3 separate regions of the Homo sapiens genome follow, and all the other regions are linked to region 1. The links are contacts of gene promoters, found by promoter capture Hi-C in blood cells and fetal thymus (Javierre and others, 2016). All regions are on one chromosome and are shown on one strand. The core of a region is centred on a gene start or on the middle of the fragment in contact, and the rest is flanking DNA. Distances in the headings are between cores, read along the strand shown.

Evidence for each region. Contacts are between HindIII fragments. The CHiCAGO score rates a contact against its expected background, and 5 or more counts as called.
Region 2: a contact is called between the fragment with the promoter of ASIC3 here and a fragment that was not itself captured in region 1, in 1 of 17 cell types (non-activated CD4 T cells). The highest score is 7.1, in non-activated CD4 T cells.
Region 3: the fragment with the promoter of KCNH2 here is called in contact with a fragment that was not itself captured in region 1 in 2 of 17 cell types (naive CD4 T cells and non-activated CD4 T cells); the score reaches 5.2 in naive CD4 T cells.

The regions. Positions count from the first base shown.
Region 1 is chr7:150,322,583-150,326,376 of GRCh38, forward strand. ACTR3C (actin related protein 3C) reads right to left here and starts at 963. Exons shown (of 8, transcript NM_001164458.2): 1 at 887-963. It overlaps LRRC61 (leucine rich repeat containing 61), which reads left to right and starts at 773. Exons shown (of 3, transcript NM_001142928.2): 1 at 773-978; 2 at 3,259-3,428. RefSeq lists enhancers at 1-102, 153-212, 1,533-1,602 and a silencer at 823-1,142. The HindIII fragment of the contact is 811 bases long and covers 1,331-2,141 here.
Region 2 is chr7:151,046,911-151,050,704 of GRCh38, forward strand. ASIC3 (acid sensing ion channel subunit 3) reads left to right here and starts at 1,621. Exons shown (of 11, transcript NM_004769.4): 1 at 1,621-2,509; 2 at 3,196-3,346; 3 at 3,571-3,698. The coding sequence starts at 1,976. It overlaps ABCB8 (ATP binding cassette subfamily B member 8), which reads left to right. Exons shown (of 16, transcript NM_007188.5): 16 at 1-872. RefSeq lists an enhancer at 3,133-3,771. The HindIII fragment of the contact is 11,911 bases long and covers 636-3,794 here.
Region 3 is chr7:150,976,350-150,980,143 of GRCh38, forward strand. KCNH2 (potassium voltage-gated channel subfamily H member 2) reads right to left here and starts at 1,972. Exons shown (of 15, transcript NM_000238.4): 1 at 1,489-1,972. The coding sequence starts at 1,564. It overlaps LOC124901776 (a long non-coding RNA gene), which reads left to right. Exons shown (of 3, transcript XR_007060592.1): 2 at 187-362; 3 at 496-1,006. RefSeq lists an enhancer at 1-270 and a silencer at 2,640-2,989. The HindIII fragment of the contact is 24,052 bases long and covers 1-3,794 here.

The DNA of each region.
Region 1 (3,794 bases), core at 486-2,985:
GCCCACCCCTTTCTCTGAAACTCATGAATAATTCAACCCTTGTTTAGCATATAATCAAGAAATAACCAAAAAATGGGTAACCAGTAGCCCTGGAGCTGCTCTGCCTATGGAGTAGCCATCCTTTTACTTCTTTGCTTTCTTAATAAACTTGTTTTCACTTTACTCTATGGGCTTGCCCTGAATTCTTTCTTGCATGAGATCCAAGAACCCTCTCTTAGGGCCTGGATCGGGACCCCTTTCTGATAACACCAGGAGACACCCTGGGTGGATTTCCTGAACCGACCGATAGATGAGCCTTCCACGCGGGAGACCTGGATCCTTATCGTCTTTGTGGCCCCTTCCATCTGCACGTGCGGACGAGGTCCGGGTCGCACTCGGGCGGTCAGCCTGGCACGCACAGCGCCGGCGTGCAGGGGGCCTTGGGTGCCACCGAGTCCGGGAGGAAATCTAGGCCGCCATCCGTCCGGAGACTGGCACCTGTGACCACCACCCAACATGTATTGAACAAGGGCTTGGAGGTCCTTTCTCTAAGGCCGCACCGATAAACGATTACCGACTGTTGACCTCACGGCCCCTTCGCTTCCGGCCGCACCGCCTCGCTGCCCACGCCTGCGCACTCAGGCACCGCAGGTAGGAGGAACGTACCAACTGCGAGGCGGGGGGTGCGCGCGAAGACCCCCGCAGGCTGCGCTTCCGGAAGTAACCCCTGGCGCATCCCGGAATCCAGAGCGCCCACTACGGCCTTTGGCCAGGCCCCCTGGGCGCGTTCCGGGAGCTCAGGCCTGCGGCGCTGGGAGAAGCACGCTGGCCAACAAGTTGGGTGGTGGGCACGCGGCCCAGGGGTCAGGGGCCGCCAGGCGGCGGGCGGCGGGGCTGCGGCTCTTACCTGCCGAGGAGGCGCCGGCTCTGCGGTGCGGAGTTGCGCCGGACTTCCCAGCTTGGCCAGTGGCTCCGCAGGCTGCCGGCTCCACCCCTCAGGTAAGCGGGGACTGGGCCGCCGAGGTTCAGGGAAGGGGGCGGCTGTCGGGGCCCGTGCCGGCCCCGGGGGGCCACCTGCTGGGCCAGCGGTGCCCTCGCGCCGAAACACACTGGGAGAGGCCAGAATCTTCCGGAACAGCCAGCCCTTACCCATCTCTCCCTCTGTGCCGAGAACTGCCCTGAAATACTGTGGTATTAATTAACTCGTTTAACACTAACAATCTCATGAGGCGGGTGCTGTTACTATTCCCGTAATGTAGACGAGGAAACCGAGGCGTGTGCTGGAGCAGGATCACGGCCGTGCTCAGAGACGGGCTCTGGATGCCATGCTCTGACTCCATTGTTAGCCCTAAGCTTCCAGAAAGTAGCAGAGTGCTGCCGTGTCGTTTGTAACAGATCTCACTTTGTGTCATTTTTTTTGCACAGTATGAAACCTAATGATGCATGATTATTATTTAAAACATCTTGCTTAGACTTTATAAGTAGTCAAATTTGCGTGTGGGACAAAACCCCAAAACATGCAATGGCTTGCTCTCCTCTTTTCCTTTCACACGTTCATCTCCTCCTATCCCTTTCTCTCACCACCTTTCAATCTTCTCACAGATGTTGTGGAGGAAGATGAGACTTGAGGGCCCAGCAGGTGCTTAAAATCCCCTGCCTGGTGGGGGTGGAGTAGACACTCTGTCCCCCTGCAGTGCTGGAGTTGAGAGCAGAGGGGCTGGAGAGGGACTGGGCGGAGTGAGAAAGGCCTGGCATAATCATGGAATGCCCAGGGTGGGGTTCTACTTCTCTTGCAGGCACAAGAGAAGTAGAAGAGTGGCCGCTTTCCTTCTGGGCACGCACTTGGGAAAAGGCTTGGTGAGAGCAGCGAGAAGAATAGGTCTAATTTCTTGAGCCAGTGTGCGGAGGTGCTTCCCAGCCCAGGCTAAGCCAGATCACTCAGCCAGCCGCTGGCTGCCTTTACAGATGTACGGCTCCCCGTGAGCAATCAACATGCCTGGCTCTCAGGCATAAGCTGCCTCACTTCCCTTCTGCACAGCACTCCAGGACTTGCCTGCTACCAGACCCATCCTACTTTCTCTGTCAGGAAAAATGAGAGTTCTTCCTGGTCTCTTGAGGCCAATCCCTTCCACCGCCTGTGCCCTGGATCCCTTTCTCCAGGAAGCTTCTCTTCCCTGTGTAGTTAGCCTCCCCGCTCTTCCCAGGTCACCTTCTCTCTGTTTAGGGACAGAGCCAAGCCTTTTCCCTCCCATCCCCACCTCCAGCATTCCCGGTTCCTGCTTCTCCCCCACTTCCTGCTGTACCGCCCACTGAAGGGACCTTTGACCCCGCTGACCACTGCTTTTGGAAAGTCTTTTCTTGGTTTCCCTAACTTCACTTTACTTTGGTTTTTCCTTGTCTCTCCCCTCTGCCTCTCAGTCACCTTTGAGATCTGCTCATCCTCTCACCTCCCTGTATTGTCAGCATTACCTGGGCAGCCCCCTCTGGTGTTTTCCTTCAGTTTCTCTAGAAACTTGCCTGAAGATTTGCCCCAAAATAGCCCACATGGACCTGTATGAGGAAAGAGGCTCACTGTGGAGGCGCTCTCCATCATTCCTCCTCTTCCACTTGAGGCTTAGGCATGGGCCACCTCCTGAACAGCTCTCCCCACAGTCTCCTCCATGCATTGTGCCATCACCCCGCCCTGCCGTCACCCCGGCCTGGCCCGCTTTCCCTTTTGCCTCCCAGGGATGTGCCTGCTTCCCATGTGGCCTGGCTAGGGCGCTTTCCTGACTGCTGCCCACATGATCGACTATGGGCAGGCGTGCAGCCCAAAAGGCCGTGCTTCAGCTTAGAAGCCCTTGGAATCTTGTCTTGTTGTGGTTGTAGGCCTCCAATGTGTTGTCAGCTGTGGTGATGTGTGTCACAAGTAACTTCTTTTTTTTGAGACAGGGTCTGGCTCTGTTGCTCAGGCTGGAATGCAGTGGTGCAATCACGGCTCACTGCAATCTCCACTTCCCTGCTCAAGCCATCTTCCTGCCTCAGACTGCCAAGAAGCTGGGACCACAGGCACAGGCCATCACAGCTGGCTGATTTTTTTGTATTTTTTTTGTAAAGACAAGGTTTCGCCATCTTGCCCAAGCTGGTCTCAACCCCCTGAGTTCAAAGCAGTCCACCCACCTTGGCTTCCCAAAGTGCTAGGATTACAGGCGTGAGCCACCACACCTGGCCACAAGTAACTTCTTAGTTATAAAGTACTGAAATTTATCAATGACTTTCTTTTTAAAATTTACGTTTTAGATTCATTTGGATTCAAGGTTGGCTCTCAACAGTGCCAGCTGCACTGTCATCCTAAAGTACTTCTGTGGAAGAGAACATGGTGGTGTCACTGTTGTACCAGTGATGACACAAAATCCCAGATCTACCTGACGGGCCTGCGAGGGTTGAAGATTGTGAAGCAATAGCCTAAGGTAAACAACACCTTGCAAGACGGGTCTAAGCTCTTCAGTGTAATAGACCCTGTTTCTCAGTAGGTCAGCCCGGGGGCCCCCCAGGGATCCCTCCCCGCCTCATAGCACCATACCCCACTTTCCCCCTGGTCTAATGATGAGCCCATTTCTAGGTTGTCGTCTCATCCTGAGCCCCAAGTGCCAGCCAGGCAGCTACTCTCCTCTGTTCATATCTTGAAGGCAGAGTGCTGGCTCATAGTAGACATTTGATGAATTTCTGTTAAATGATTGAGTGAATCAAGAGTATCTGCAGAGTATAGCATTTATGATGAGACAAAGCTAATTGGGAAACAGAACAAGATTGGTGTCCTGGGGTAACTGGGTAGG
Region 2 (3,794 bases), core at 371-2,870, 720 kb after region 1:
ATTTGATATCCCACTTCCTGACAGATCAGAGGCTGTGTCTTTAAGCAGTGGAGGTCCAGGAGCAGAGCCTGGGGCTGGTTCACAGCTAAACCCCTCCTTAGGGCAGCCCAGAGTAGGGCCTCAGCTGGCAAGTCCACAAGCCCTGCTGGGGCCCTGCTTGTTGGCCTGACCCCTCCCTCACCAGGCAGCCAGCCAAGGTGGTTCCTGCTTCACCCACTCAGTCATCAGCCTCAGGCTGCCCAAAATGCCTCTGACACCAGATTTATATCTTCTGGGCGGCTTCTTTAAATCCAGCCCTTCACCCGCCCCCTAGAGAAGCAGTGAAACCCCTTGGCTAGTCCAGCTGGAAGAGCTAGACCGCAGGAGCCGCGCCGTCTTCCTAACCTCGCCTCGGCCTTCGCTCCACAGTGGAGAGTGGGAGCCTAGCTGTGCTTGATGCTGAATGCCTGTTTTGAGAGTGTGAGTGGGATCATCTACAGTAAATACTTGCAAAGCATGGCACTGTGGCTCTGGGGAGCTGGTACGCCTGTGCTGTAACCATGGTACTCAGTCCTTCCAAAGTGTTTATTAATCAAGCACCTGTCATGTGCCATTGAGCCCACGATGGGGAATGAGGACAGTCCCTGCCCCCATGAAGCTTGTGTCCTGTTGGGAGGACAGACAGGTGGCCCAGCAGTTGCAGCATGGTGTGTGCACACGTTTGGCTGGTGGAACCATGTTTCTACCACTCATGGTCAAAAAAAGCCCACCAAAGTCCTGGGAGTTCACATCTGTGTGATGATACGGCAACATTGTTTGTAATGGAAAGACTGGACACCCCCAGTGCCCATCAGTGGGGGAGTCATTAAATAAACTATGGTATGTGCACATAATGGGTGGTATGCAGCCCTTTGGAAAAATGTAGGTTTTCCAGGTCCTGGATATAGCAGCGTAAGATGGGAAATCACAGAATACCCATGTTGTGCCTGAGATGGCAGGTGGGGTACCCGTGGTACCCGGGAGGGTGGCAGGTGGGGCACCCATGTTCTACCTGGGGTGGCAGGTGAGCCCATAACCATTGTAGAGGCCAACATCCTCAGAGGCCTGAGTGTGGGGAGGTAGGCTTTGACTCCCTAGGGAGAGAGGGACACTTAGGAAACAGACGGGCCCTGGAAGTGGGACATGAAGAGTGCCCTGGCCATCCAGTGTAGGCTGAGATGCTAGGGGCACAGAAAGAAGAGATCTGCTGATGCCAGCCTTCCAACCATTTCCCAGCTTGGCCAAGAGCCAGCTCTGGTATTCGTGAAGGAACAGATCCTGGGTGAAGCTAGAGGGAAGGCCGCAGAGGCAAAAGGAGAGAGGAGCTAGGCCAGGGGTCAGCGACTGACCCTCGCGGCCAGTGTACAGGGGTTGCAACTGGGAGCCTAGGGGGCCCCAAGGCATCTCCAGGCCCAATCTACCTCTGGGCTTTTCTCAAGCTCTCCCTAGGATTACTGCGGTTTCCTCCTGGCGCCTCTCGTCTTGGACAGCCATGCCCCCCTCCATGCTGCACTAATGGCTCAGCCTGGGGCCCTAGGGACCTCTCCTACCCCCCAGACTGCTCTGTCGGCCCCCTTTCCCCCCTACTGCTGAAACCCAATCCTCTGCAGCAGCGCCGGCTCAGCACCGCCGGCTCAGCACCGCTCCGCAGCCCCTGCCTGCCACGGTCAGCTACGTCCCACCTGGTCTGCTGCGGAGTCCCCAGCCCAGTGCCTAGCCCAGTGGAGCCACCGCCTGTTCCTCGGGAAGGAACAGTGGGACCTGACCGGCCAGATCACCTCCTCCAATCCTGCCAGGCTAGTGCCTCCCTGCCTTCCAACCTTGGCTGTCTCCCACCCTCTCTTCTCCTCTCCTTGCCTGGCCTCCTGAATCCTATCTTAGCCTCCTTAGCCCCCTGACTGACTCTCTCTCGCTTCTTCCAAGCCTCTGTAGCTGGTTCCGCTCCTGGGTTCTGGCCATGAAGCCCACCTCAGGCCCAGAGGAGGCCCGGCGGCCAGCCTCGGACATCCGCGTGTTCGCCAGCAACTGCTCGATGCACGGGCTGGGCCACGTCTTCGGGCCAGGCAGCCTGAGCCTGCGCCGGGGGATGTGGGCAGCGGCCGTGGTCCTGTCAGTGGCCACCTTCCTCTACCAGGTGGCTGAGAGGGTGCGCTACTACAGGGAGTTCCACCACCAGACTGCCCTGGATGAGCGAGAAAGCCACCGGCTCATCTTCCCGGCTGTCACCCTGTGCAACATCAACCCACTGCGCCGCTCGCGCCTAACGCCCAACGACCTGCACTGGGCTGGGTCTGCGCTGCTGGGCCTGGATCCCGCAGAGCACGCCGCCTTCCTGCGCGCCCTGGGCCGGCCCCCTGCACCGCCCGGCTTCATGCCCAGTCCCACCTTTGACATGGCGCAACTCTATGCCCGTGCTGGGCACTCCCTGGATGACATGCTGCTGGACTGTCGCTTCCGTGGCCAACCTTGTGGGCCTGAGAACTTCACCACGGTGAGCTGACCTCCCTACCTATCCTGCCAGGGACCCAGAGAGCCGACCAGTCCCTGCCCAGCACCCACAATTCCCTAGCCAGCACAGGCTCCCCCAAAGCCAGGGGACCTCTTCCTTCCTACCAGCCATGGACTCCCCACCCCCCAGTGCCACTCCGTGCAGCCCAGGAAGCTGTCCTCCTTGGGGCTTTCTCTGTCTCCCAGCCCGAGGGGAGCATGTGAGGCCACACTGACCCCGGCTGGCCCTAGGCCTGAGGTCTGGCCCAGGGAGGCCCTGCTCCTGGGGCTGGGGGTCCTCCATGGTGGGACCATTCTGGGGCAGAAGACCCCTATCTCTGCCAGGAGGTGGGGGGGGCTTGCTTTCCCTCTGCCTTTTCAACATACTGCCAGCCCCGGAGGACAGCCACAGGGGCCCATTTCCTTTTCCTGCAGTTCCCAGAGAAACACAGAAAAACCTGTAGGCTGTGCCCTGGGCTTTGGTGGGGATTGGCGGGGTGGAGGAGCTGAGTTGATGGGCTCCCAAGAGCGTCCTGCAACATGTGCCCACTGGAGCGTGGGGCTGGGGGCATTGAGATGCGGGCTTCAGTATTCAAAGAAGAGACGCAAACATACCATGAGGTGGGGAGAGGTCCCATGACCATGTGCCTGCCTGGGGGAGATGGCCATCACCCTGTCTGCCCGCCCCAGATCTTCACCCGGATGGGAAAGTGCTACACATTTAACTCTGGCGCTGATGGGGCAGAGCTGCTCACCACTACTAGGGGTGGCATGGGCAATGGGCTGGACATCATGCTGGACGTGCAGCAGGAGGAATATCTACCTGTGTGGAGGGACAATGGTAGGGAGCACACAAATGAGGCTGGGGGAGGGCACGGATGGAGTGCAAAAGGCTAGGGGAAGGAGAGGAGGAGAGGAGGTGTCAGGGTGTTCCCCCAGAACCTGTGAAAGGGGCTGGGCTGGCTCATCCCAGTCCTGGGGAGAGGGGCTGCAGTGAGAGGTCTTGTCTGGTTGGGCAGGAGACCTGACCACACAGGTCAGGCCTCACAGGTCCCTCCCCGACAGAGGAGACCCCGTTTGAGGTGGGGATCCGAGTGCAGATCCACAGCCAGGAGGAGCCGCCCATCATCGATCAGCTGGGCTTGGGGGTGTCCCCGGGCTACCAGACCTTTGTTTCTTGCCAGCAGCAGCAGGTACCCTTCCGTGTGCCTCCACACCTACTACTTCAAGCCCACACCACCTCAGACCCTAAACCCTCAGCTCCTCAGACCTGTCTAGGGGCCTCTCCC
Region 3 (3,794 bases), core at 722-3,221, 650 kb after region 1:
TTGGCCAGTTCCCAAGGCCCCCCAGACCTCCCAGGCAGCCATCAATTCCAGGAGTCAGGGTTTCCTGTCACCTGAAAAGACCCCCTAACTCGGCCTCCAGCTCTGCCACAGTCCAAGGCAGTCCAGAGGCCCAGCCACACACCCCAGCTTCATAGAAGAAAAACCACCCCTTGTCCTCTCTCCCAGGCTGGGGAAAGAAGAGCAAGTTTCTTCGAAGGCATGCCCCACCCCACCACACACCCTTCACTGAGATCCTGGAATACAGGGATGGGACAGAAAGCCTGCCCCTCCTCCACAGACCTGGAACCTGAGACCCAAAGAGGGAAGAGTCACTCAAGGTCACATGGCAGTCAGTGGCAAAGGTAGGGCTAGAATCCAGCACCCCCCCCCACATCCATCCCAGCCTCCTCGTAGGCCCGCCCACAGCCTCCCCCTGGGCCCACCCCCACCTCTCAGGGAGGCCCTCAACCAGTGTCATTGTCTCCACCCCCTCAGGATCATCTTGTTCCTCCGCTTCACACAATACTGACCATCGGACTGACCCCTCCTTCCCCCAACCACCGTTACAAGCACGCGTTGTCCTGTGCTCACAGGGTCATGGACAAGGAATGTCATCCTCTCCCAACTCCCAGGGCCCTTGGCAGTCACACCCACTGTGGCTCATGCAGCCTTAGGGACAGGCACATGAATGCTGCCCACCCCCAGGACATTTGCCTAATCTGGGACCCTTCTAGAAGCCTCCCTACCAGGCAGGCATTAGGGGTGCTGTACTCCCGGTCCCCATAAGGGAATTAGGTGACAGTCTCCAGGGCAAGAAAACCCACAACTTGGGGGTACCACAGGGAGCTGCTTACCCTCAAAGCCCAGCTCTAGCCCCAGGACACCCTGTCTCCACAGAGCCCACAAGCTCGCAGCCTTGTCAAAGACACCTCCCCACCGCCCATACAGGGTCTAACTCACGGGTGACACATGGGCTCAGGGTTATATACACACGGCACACACAAGAAGAGATTATGAGCTGACCCTGCATCCACGGCTTTTCAGTCCCTCCGGCACAACACAGTCAAGATCTGGCAAGACCAGTGTGCGCGCTGGACTCTCGGGATCCCAGGGTTTGGGTCGTACACACTCTTATGCCCTTGCACACAGCCCCATCCACGTCCACGCACCCAGAGTTGGGGACACCTGCACACTCCATCCCACATCCCTTCCCTGCACACTCAGCGTGTCACACACACTCCGATCCCAAAAGCCTGAGCTGAGTTTCCCGCCCCAAGCCCCAACCCCAAACCCTTTGGCCCGGTGCCCACGGCCCCGGTGCACCAAGCCTTGCCCCCGCCGTCCCCTCGCCAAAGCCTGGGGCCCACCAGGCCCCATTGACTCGCACTTGCCGACGCACACGGCCCGGGCACGCCCCCCCATCCACACTCGGAAGAGCTCGGCCCGCCCCCAGAGCCCCCTCCCCGCTCAGCCCCCTCCCCCACTCACTCTGGCCCTCAAACTTGCGGATGATGGTGTCCAGGAAGGTGTTCTGCGGCGCGACGTGGCCCCTCCGCACCGGCATCCTGAGCCCATGGGCGGGCCGGGCGGGCCCCCACCCACCCCGGCCCGGCCCGGCCCAGCACTAGGCTTCGGGTGGCCCGGCCGGGCCGTGGTCCCCGCACCCCGCGGCCAAGCCGAGCACGGGCGCGGCCAAGACTGGACTGCGGGCGCCGGGTCCTCGCTCGGCTCCCGGCTCCCCGCTCCGGACCCCGGGCCCGGCCTGGAGCCGCCTGAGCGCGAGCCGCCCGCCGCCGGCACACCTGTCTGCCGGCCCCCGCCGAGCCGCGGGGCCCGCTCCGCCGCGTCCCCGCGCTGCGCTCCGCCCGCCCGAGCCCCGGACTCCTGGCTCCCGCCTGCCACCGCGCCGACAGCCGCTCCAGCGCCCGCGGCTCGGGCAGCGCCTGCGGCTCGGCCCGGCCGCGGAAGGGTTAATGCGGCGCGCGCCCCTCCGGCTCCGGCCCCCGCCTCCCGGCCCCCTCCCGCCTGCCGCGCGCCCGCAGCACCGCCCTCTCCCCCCCCCATCCCGCCCCACCGCGCGCGCCCGACCTTCCCATTGGCTGAGCCGCGCCGAGTGCTCCCCCAACGCCAGCCCCTCGCTCTGCCAAGGAGCCCCTGGGACTCGCGCGCCCAGAAGAGGGGGAAGGGACCCTTAGGCAGGGGAAACCGTGAGGACAGGTGCCATGGCCGGCTTGTAGGCGGCCGGGATGGGGGAAGGGATTCCACCCCCACCCCAGATTAGCGACTAAGAAACCTGATTTGAAGGGAAACGGCGGGTCCTTATGCCCTGGTTCCCCACCACGCCGAGCACTGGCTTGGTATACACAGCACGCGCTCAGTGCCTACTGTGGGTGACCGGGGCAACGCCTGGACCCTCGAAGACGAGCCCGGAGTCAAGGGAGACCCTGGAAATAGGAAAAGCAAGACAATCTGAAGGCCCCAGAGCAGCAGAGCTCTGAAATAAGGGAGGGTTAAACTTAGAAGGGGCACGCCCCCTGCCCCAACACACACACACACACACACACACACACACACACACACATACACACACACACACACACACACACACACACACACATACACACACACACACGGAGAGAGAGAGAGCCCTCTGTGGGGCTCTGCATAGGAGCTGCACAGAGAGGGACATTCTGACAGCAGTTGCGGCCTCCTAGCTGCAGGATCAAAGAGAGGTCCCTGAGCGCGAGGTTCCAACCAGGGGATCCCCGGGTGCGAGCGGCCCGCCCTCCCCCGGCAGCCCGGGGCCAGCCTTGCACGCCCAATCGGCGGGCTCGGGGCCCTGCGGCGGCGGCCACGGCCCAGCCCCTCGGAAAGCCCTGGCCTAGCCGCAGGCCCCTCCCCCCGGCCAGCTGGCTCGCTCCAGCTGCGGCTCCCTTATTTAGGCAAGGAGGCCTAGGGATGCTCAAGGGCAGGCGGGGTGTCTGCCCCGCCGCCTGCTCATCGCCTGCTTGCGTCTGAGTGAGGGTCTCCGGGCGCGGTGTCCTCGGACTTAGCAGTCAGGCAGGGCCCCGGGAAGGCCAGGGCGGGGAGGCGAGTGTTGACAGCTGAGTGGGCGGGCGGGGAGGGAGGAGTCGCAGCTGAACAGCCGAGGGTCCCCTCCCTGCAGCCGGATCAGAGACCTGTCTAGATGGATGGGGCCATGTGGGGGCTCCTGAGGGCTTGCAGCTGCCTCTGTCCTTGGAGCAGGGGCTGGGTCTTGTCACCAGCGAGAACCATCATGGGGGGAGGGGAAGAACAAAGGGCAGGGAAGGAATCGGAGTCCCGAAGGAGGAAGGCGCAGAAAACTGTCGTCGTGAGACCACCCTACCCGGACTCTCACCTTCCACCCAGGAGCACAAAGATGCAAACACTGGGGCCAAATGGGGCCACTGGCCAGCAGATGACACTCTTTTTTATTTGCTGGTGGGTGGGCAGTGACTCAGGGAGGCAGCCAGTGGGAGAGAAGGAGGTGGCTCCACAGCTGATGCTAAAAAAGTCCAGAGGCTCTTGCCTGTGCAGTTATTCCTCAGGCCCTCTCCACTGCCAGCAGTTTCCTCACTCACCCCCCCGGGGGCCCAGGGCCTTCCACAGCACAAGCTCCTCCTTGGTGTAGCATTTGGCATCAGGTGCATCAACACATCTGGGTTCCGGGTAGAACCTAGTCCACGACTGGCCCAGCCCCCGCCACGCCCCAAGGCCACCCCTGGCTGCTGGGTTGCCTACCATGAATCCAGGATGATTCATGTGTGAGTGAA